Regions from separate parts of the Homo sapiens genome. Here region 2 is linked to region 1. The links are contacts of gene promoters, found by promoter capture Hi-C in blood cells and fetal thymus (Javierre and others, 2016). All regions are on one chromosome and are shown on one strand. Each heading gives the region's core, a stretch centred on a gene start or on the middle of the fragment in contact. The rest is flanking DNA. Distances are from core to core; before and after follow the strand shown. Region 1 holds the start of LHX4-AS1 (LHX4 antisense RNA 1). Region 2 overlaps ACBD6 (acyl-CoA binding domain containing 6).

Evidence for each region. Contacts are between HindIII fragments. The CHiCAGO score rates a contact against its expected background, and 5 or more counts as called.
Region 2: a fragment that was not itself captured here is called in contact with the fragment with the promoter of LHX4-AS1 in region 1 in 7 of 17 cell types (endothelial precursors, monocytes, M2 macrophages and 4 more); the score reaches 9.0 in endothelial precursors.

Annotation. Positions count from the first base shown.
Region 1 is chr1:180,273,159-180,276,062 of GRCh38, forward strand. LHX4-AS1 (LHX4 antisense RNA 1) reads right to left here and starts at 1,523. Exons shown (of 5, transcript NR_037642.1): 1 at 1,493-1,523; 2 at 779-954; 3 at 180-240. It overlaps LHX4 (LIM homeobox 4), which reads left to right. Exons shown (of 6, transcript NM_033343.4): 6 at 1,027-2,904. The coding sequence ends at 1,421. It also overlaps a transcript of ACBD6 not described here. The HindIII fragment of the contact is 1,811 bases long and covers 640-2,450 here.
Region 2 is chr1:180,475,684-180,478,689 of GRCh38, forward strand. All of the region lies in intron 3 of ACBD6 (acyl-CoA binding domain containing 6), which reads right to left. Among named protein-coding and RNA genes, the nearest start is that of ACBD6, 25 kb to the right of the region's middle. The HindIII fragment of the contact is 1,459 bases long and covers 666-2,124 here.

The DNA.
Region 1 (2,904 bases), core at 273-2,772:
GGTGGAAATAGAAAAGGAAGTTTGTGGGACAGAGGATGGAACAAGTTGCCTGCCAGGACAACGATGCCCTGGGAGGACTCTAGTTCAGCCCAGAGGTCAGCTGAGCCCTAGAGGGCAGCCTCCTCTGAGAACACAGGGCCCGTGAGGCCTTGGGGACAGCTCATGGGACTAATACTCACCTTTTAGGCTTCTTGGCAGGATTGGGAAAGTCAATCTCATCTGGGCTGTTGAAGTCAACACCTAGAACATACTGGATTGTTAAGCTCATTTCTGTTGGGTGCAGGTGGGTCCCTGGGCTGACCTATCATTGGTTTCTCTGGGAATAATTTCTCAAAGACTAAAACTGCTCACCTCTGTTGGAGAGAGAAATTCTTTCAAGTGGCAAAGATTCCATTAGATCCCCTTAATGAAATTCTTTAAGAAAAAAGAAGGTTCATTTGCCTTAATCAAGTCAATTCTTTGTCCCCAGTGAAGAGCTTATTGAATACAGACAGAAACCAAGTCCTTTGATATTGAACCTCTCTTCCAGATAGACCAGAAGGATTTTGTACAGATGTCTAAGAGTGGTCCTCAGCTTCCCTGACCATATGGGCCTGCTTGCTTCCCAATCAACTAAACCAAGCCCTTTCTCAGCTTGAAAGCTTTCAGGGTAAATGTTGTCAGCATGTAGTTTCCATTTGTGATGTGGAGACATCTGACCCACCCAGCCTTAGGCATTCATCCTCCTCAGTGTAGCCAGAGTATTAGTACACGAGCCACAAGGGACCAACGAGCTCACCAAACATTTGTCCATCCTTCTGGGACCTGGGAATTTAGTCTTTGCAGGTGTTTCTTGTTTTTCTCCTTGGCCTGGGTTGGCCTCTGGATATCAGGCTGCCATATTGGTGTGTCTGACCCATGCTTGGCTGCAAGGCAGCTGCCATCCTTGGGCATCTTTCCTGGTCATGTGTGTTCCTAGGTTGTGAAGAGCAGGGGACCATCAGAGTCCTGGCAGCTGACAATAAATCTCCGTTCTTTTGTCCACAGAGGATCAAATTCTCTCAGAACTTGGCCACACCAATAGGATTTATGGCAACGTGGGGGACGTTACAGGCGGACAGTTAATGAATGGGAGCTTCTCCATGGACGGGACAGGACAATCCTATCAGGACTTGAGGGATGGGAGCCCCTATGGAATCCCCCAGTCTCCATCCTCCATATCGTCCCTGCCATCCCACGCTCCTTTGCTCAATGGGCTGGATTACACGGTGGACAGTAATTTGGGCATCATTGCGCATGCAGGGCAGGGAGTAAGCCAGACGCTGAGAGCCATGGCTGGGGGACCCACCTCTGACATCTCCACAGGAAGCAGTGTAGGCTATCCCGACTTTCCAACTAGCCCAGGCTCTTGGCTCGATGAAATGGATCATCCTCCTTTTTAAACTTCTCTCCTCCCCACCCTACCTGCCCCCCTGGCTTGAGAGAATATCTTCAAGGATCAAAAGAGACTTGCCTTTTAAGGATCGAAAGTACGCCAATGTGAATTTCCATTATTTTCAATGGAAGTCCTCCGCTGATTCCTAGAAGGCTGTGAGACCACACTAGGGCATTGTTTCCCTGGGGAAGCAGTGGGAGAGCAGACTCATCTCAGAACACAGCACAGGGGGTAATGGCCTAGAGCTCTAGGGACACTGGCTTGTTGGGTCTCTCCCCTGCTGTTCTGCTTAGGGGCTTGGCTGCTCAGTGCTTTGGTAGCACAAGGTGACTGTGATAGGCCCCCTTGGCCTTTGGGAACTTTGCTCCAACTGGTGTGTCTCACACAATGCCTCCCAAAACACTGCTCTCACCAGAACTGAGACTCCTAAGGTAGAGGCCTCACAGCCCTTGAGTAAAATAAAAGTGATTTCTGGACCATCCTTATTGAACCCTATATTTCAAAATGAAAAGATCAGTTATTAAAGGTCAGTGAACACTTTGATGGCCAGTTTGATATTAAAAACATGCCCCCTCCTTTTTTATTTTTGCTGTGAAGATATGAATTCTTTCCTACAAACCAGAGAATATGAACCTGTTTTGGTTTTTAAGTGTCCCATCTATATCATTGACTCTGATGGCAAGAGGTGGTTTTCATTGCAGGTGACTGAGGCTGAGCTGAGTAGCCCTGGACCACCGCTGCAGATTGCCTGAGTCGTCCCCTTGGTGCACAGTGTGCCTTCTTCAATTGCTTGTATCATTTATTCCACAAGACAGGCTGTGGGCTGTAAAATGAGCAAAACTAAAATGTGGGGAGAACAAAATGACAATCAATCAGTGAACATTTGTAGACACATTTGGATTCCAAACCTGCAGTCTGTTCAGCCATATCGGCTGATGCCAGTCTTCCAGAGTTCCCCATCCCTTGTAGGGTGAAATATTTGGAGTCTGTTTTGAAGGAGTTGGTTTAGATGAGCTTGCAAGTCTACCCCTCTGAAAGCTTTCTCTGCTGTCCTAGCTGACTCAATTGGAGGACAGTTTTGGTCATTTCCAGGAACCAGCAATTTTTTTTTGGCCTACCTTGGTTGGGAAGAGTAATTTAGGGAGCAGCCCTAAAATTGTCCAAAGGGTTCTAAGTGGTTCTTGGGCTGCATCTCTCTGGATTGCTGGCTGGACACCTGCCATGCCTTGGGCTGCAGTCCCATGGTCAGAAAGCCAGAACTCTCTGGCCAGTGGTGGTGCAGGGACTCCCCGTTGTGCAGGTTTGCAGTAGCAAATCACTAAGCCTGAGGCCAGAGCAAGGCCAACCCCCGCTTTACGAGTTGCCACTCCTGCGACAGACTGCACTGCTGTGGGAAACGCTGTCCTGAATGGTGCTGCAGCTCCCACCCACCTTGTGCACCCATCTACCATCAGGAAGCTCTCCATGTGCAAACTGGAATTTAGCCAGCT
Region 2 (3,006 bases), core at 145-2,644, 200 kb after region 1:
ATACCAATAGTTTGGTCCTATTTAGTATTCCATTCTGTAGATACACCATAATTTGTTTAGCCTTCTCCTGTTGATGGAAATTTTGGTTTCCAGTTTGGGGTTATTATAAATAAAGCGACTATGAACATTCATGTAAAAAAATAAAGTAAAATGACCTAGTGTTTACCATATGATGGAAAATGCTATAACACCTAGAAAGAGTTGGTGGGGCACTTTTCATTTTCCCTTTTACTTAAATCAACAACATGGATTATTAAGAGTTTCACTAAATTTGTTATTGAATATATTAAAATTCAACCTAAGGAAAAACGGGACAACTGGAAGATAACATTTATCATGTCTAGGCACTCAGGTATATATTATGGCTAGGGGAAAATAGCAAAACAAACAACTATCACATACCAAAATCTGAATCTGGTTCCAATGCAACCCAATCCCACCAATACCAATGAAAAGACTAGAAGTTTATCCCCAGGTAAAATCATTTGAGATCTCTGATGCAAAACTATGGTGTTATTTAAAGATGGAATGTGAAGCCAAAAAGCATTCACACGTTCTGTTTAAGTTATATTATTAACTCATTTATGCCGGAGGTTGAAAATTTTTTTTGTGAAAATCAGACCTTGGCAATGACCTTGAGCAGTAGGATGTAAATAACTCCCACAAGCTTTGCATTCCAATAATGGAACACTAGGCATAAATGGGTTAAATTTTTTTTTTTTAAAAAAAGAATGAAGTTGTCACTCAAAGGTTTTTGCCTATGCACACATATAGGCTAATACAATGCTTCTTTTCCTCAACTGACAAGTATCACAAAAGAAAATTTAAAAGTACAATTGGCAAATAAAACAAGAAAACTCAGCCGGGCACAGTGGCTCACGCCTATAATCCCAGCACTTTGGAAGGCCAAGGCAGGCGGATCACCTGAGGTCGGGAGTTTGAGACCAGCCTGGTCAACATGGTGAAACCCCGTCTCTACGAAAAATACAAAAATGAGCCGGGCGTGGTGGCGGGCACCTGTAATCCCAGCTACTCGGGAGGCTGAGGCAGGAGAATTGCTTGAACCCGGGAGACAGAGGTTGCAGTGAGCTGAGATCATGCCATTGCGCTCAGCCTGGGCAACAGAGTGAGACTCTGTCTCAAAAAAAGCACAAAAAACAAAAACAAACAAAAAAAACAAGAAAACTCAAAAACAACACAAGTACATGGATGGAAGAAATGTGAAAATATCCAATGAATATATCAGATTATATATCTATTAACCAGTTCCCCTCTGAAGCTAACCAAAACATTACACAATATAATGCTTTGTATAACATTATACCCCCTTATCCATGGGGTATGTATTCTAAGACCCCTAGTAGATGCCTGAAACTGTAGACACTACAGAGCCCTATATACACTATGTTTTTTCCTATACAGGAACAGGTAATGGATACATCTTGACAAAGGGATGTATGGAGTGGGACAGGAGAGATTTTATCACAACAGGGCATGCAATTTAAAACTTATCAATTGGTTACTTCTGGAATTTTCCACTTAATATTTTTGGACCACCGTTGACCTCAGGTGACTGAAACCCCTCAGAAAGCAAAACTATAGATCAGGGAGGACTGCTATACATTTTTAAACCACAAACAGGGACCACTAACAAACACATACACACATATAAGAGCATACACACAAGCATTAAGAATCCTACAGTTCCTAAATATTGCATAACTCTTTATAAAGTCAGTAGGATAGACCATTAAATGTTTTTAATAACACACCATGCTTTTCTGTACTGAAAATTACCTCTATATGGAGGTTAATAAATTTGGCCCAAAATATAATCAATCTCTGTTCCTAGTAACAAAACATGTCATAATAGAGTTTATCATTAGAACGAATTTTTTTTTCAGTAGAAAAAATAATCTCCTTATAATTTAAAAAACAGATAAAATGCAGTTCTAGTTCTTAATTCCCAACTAATACACACAGGTTACTTTTTTACTAAAATAAGTCAGAAATGTTTTATTAAAATCAGGAAAGAAACTATTTCTAGATTATTTCTTTTAGCTATAGCTTTAACATCATAATTCAATTAATCTACTAAAATGTGTAACTGTTGTATCTGCAAAAAGCTTATTCTGCTCTAATGCACAAATAAGAAGTCTTAAAAAAGTCTTCTGCAAGCTGGGCAAGGCAGTGTGCACCTGTAGTCCCAGCTACTTGGAAGGATGAGGCAGGAGGATAACTTGAGCCCAGGAGTTCAGGTCTAGCCTAGGCAACATAGTGAGACTCCATCTCTTTAAAAAAAAAAAATTCTTTTGCAAAAGAAAATTTTAGTTGCACAGGATACTAATTTTCTCTAAATTTTCTAATAAATTTAGATCACCATATGATGCTTATTTTTCTTAACTTACATGGATTGAATAAGAAAACAAAGTCATTTTTAATTCTAATCTATTATCCCAAAAGTACATCATTTTGGGATGTAAAGATAATAAGATTATCTTTATTGAAATTATTATAATTTTACATTAAAATGTATTTTTATTTATTAAGTACAGCTAAAAAATAATTTCTAATCTTATAGTTTTTATTGTGTGTCTATTAGAGAAATACACAAAATAAGCATAATTGAAGTGTATTTAGTTTCACAGAAAAATCAGTAACTTTAAACTGTGAAACACTGCCCTCTATAGTCCACTGAATTAAACAACAATTCAATTTATAATACTTAGAACAATACAACCTAGACAAGGAATTTTGGACTTTCTGCCTCGTTCCTGAAGCAAAATTTTCCCGCTCTATAAATCTCTCTTTTTTTTTTTTTTTGAGACGGAGTCATGCTGTGTCGCCCAGGCTGGAGTGCAATGGCACAATCTCGGCTCACTGCAACCTCTGCCTCCCAGGTTCAAGCAATTCTCCTGCCTCAGCCTCCCAAGTAGCTGGGATTACAGTACCACCATTGCTGGCTAATTTTTGTATTTTTAGTAGAGACGGGGTTTCACCATGTTG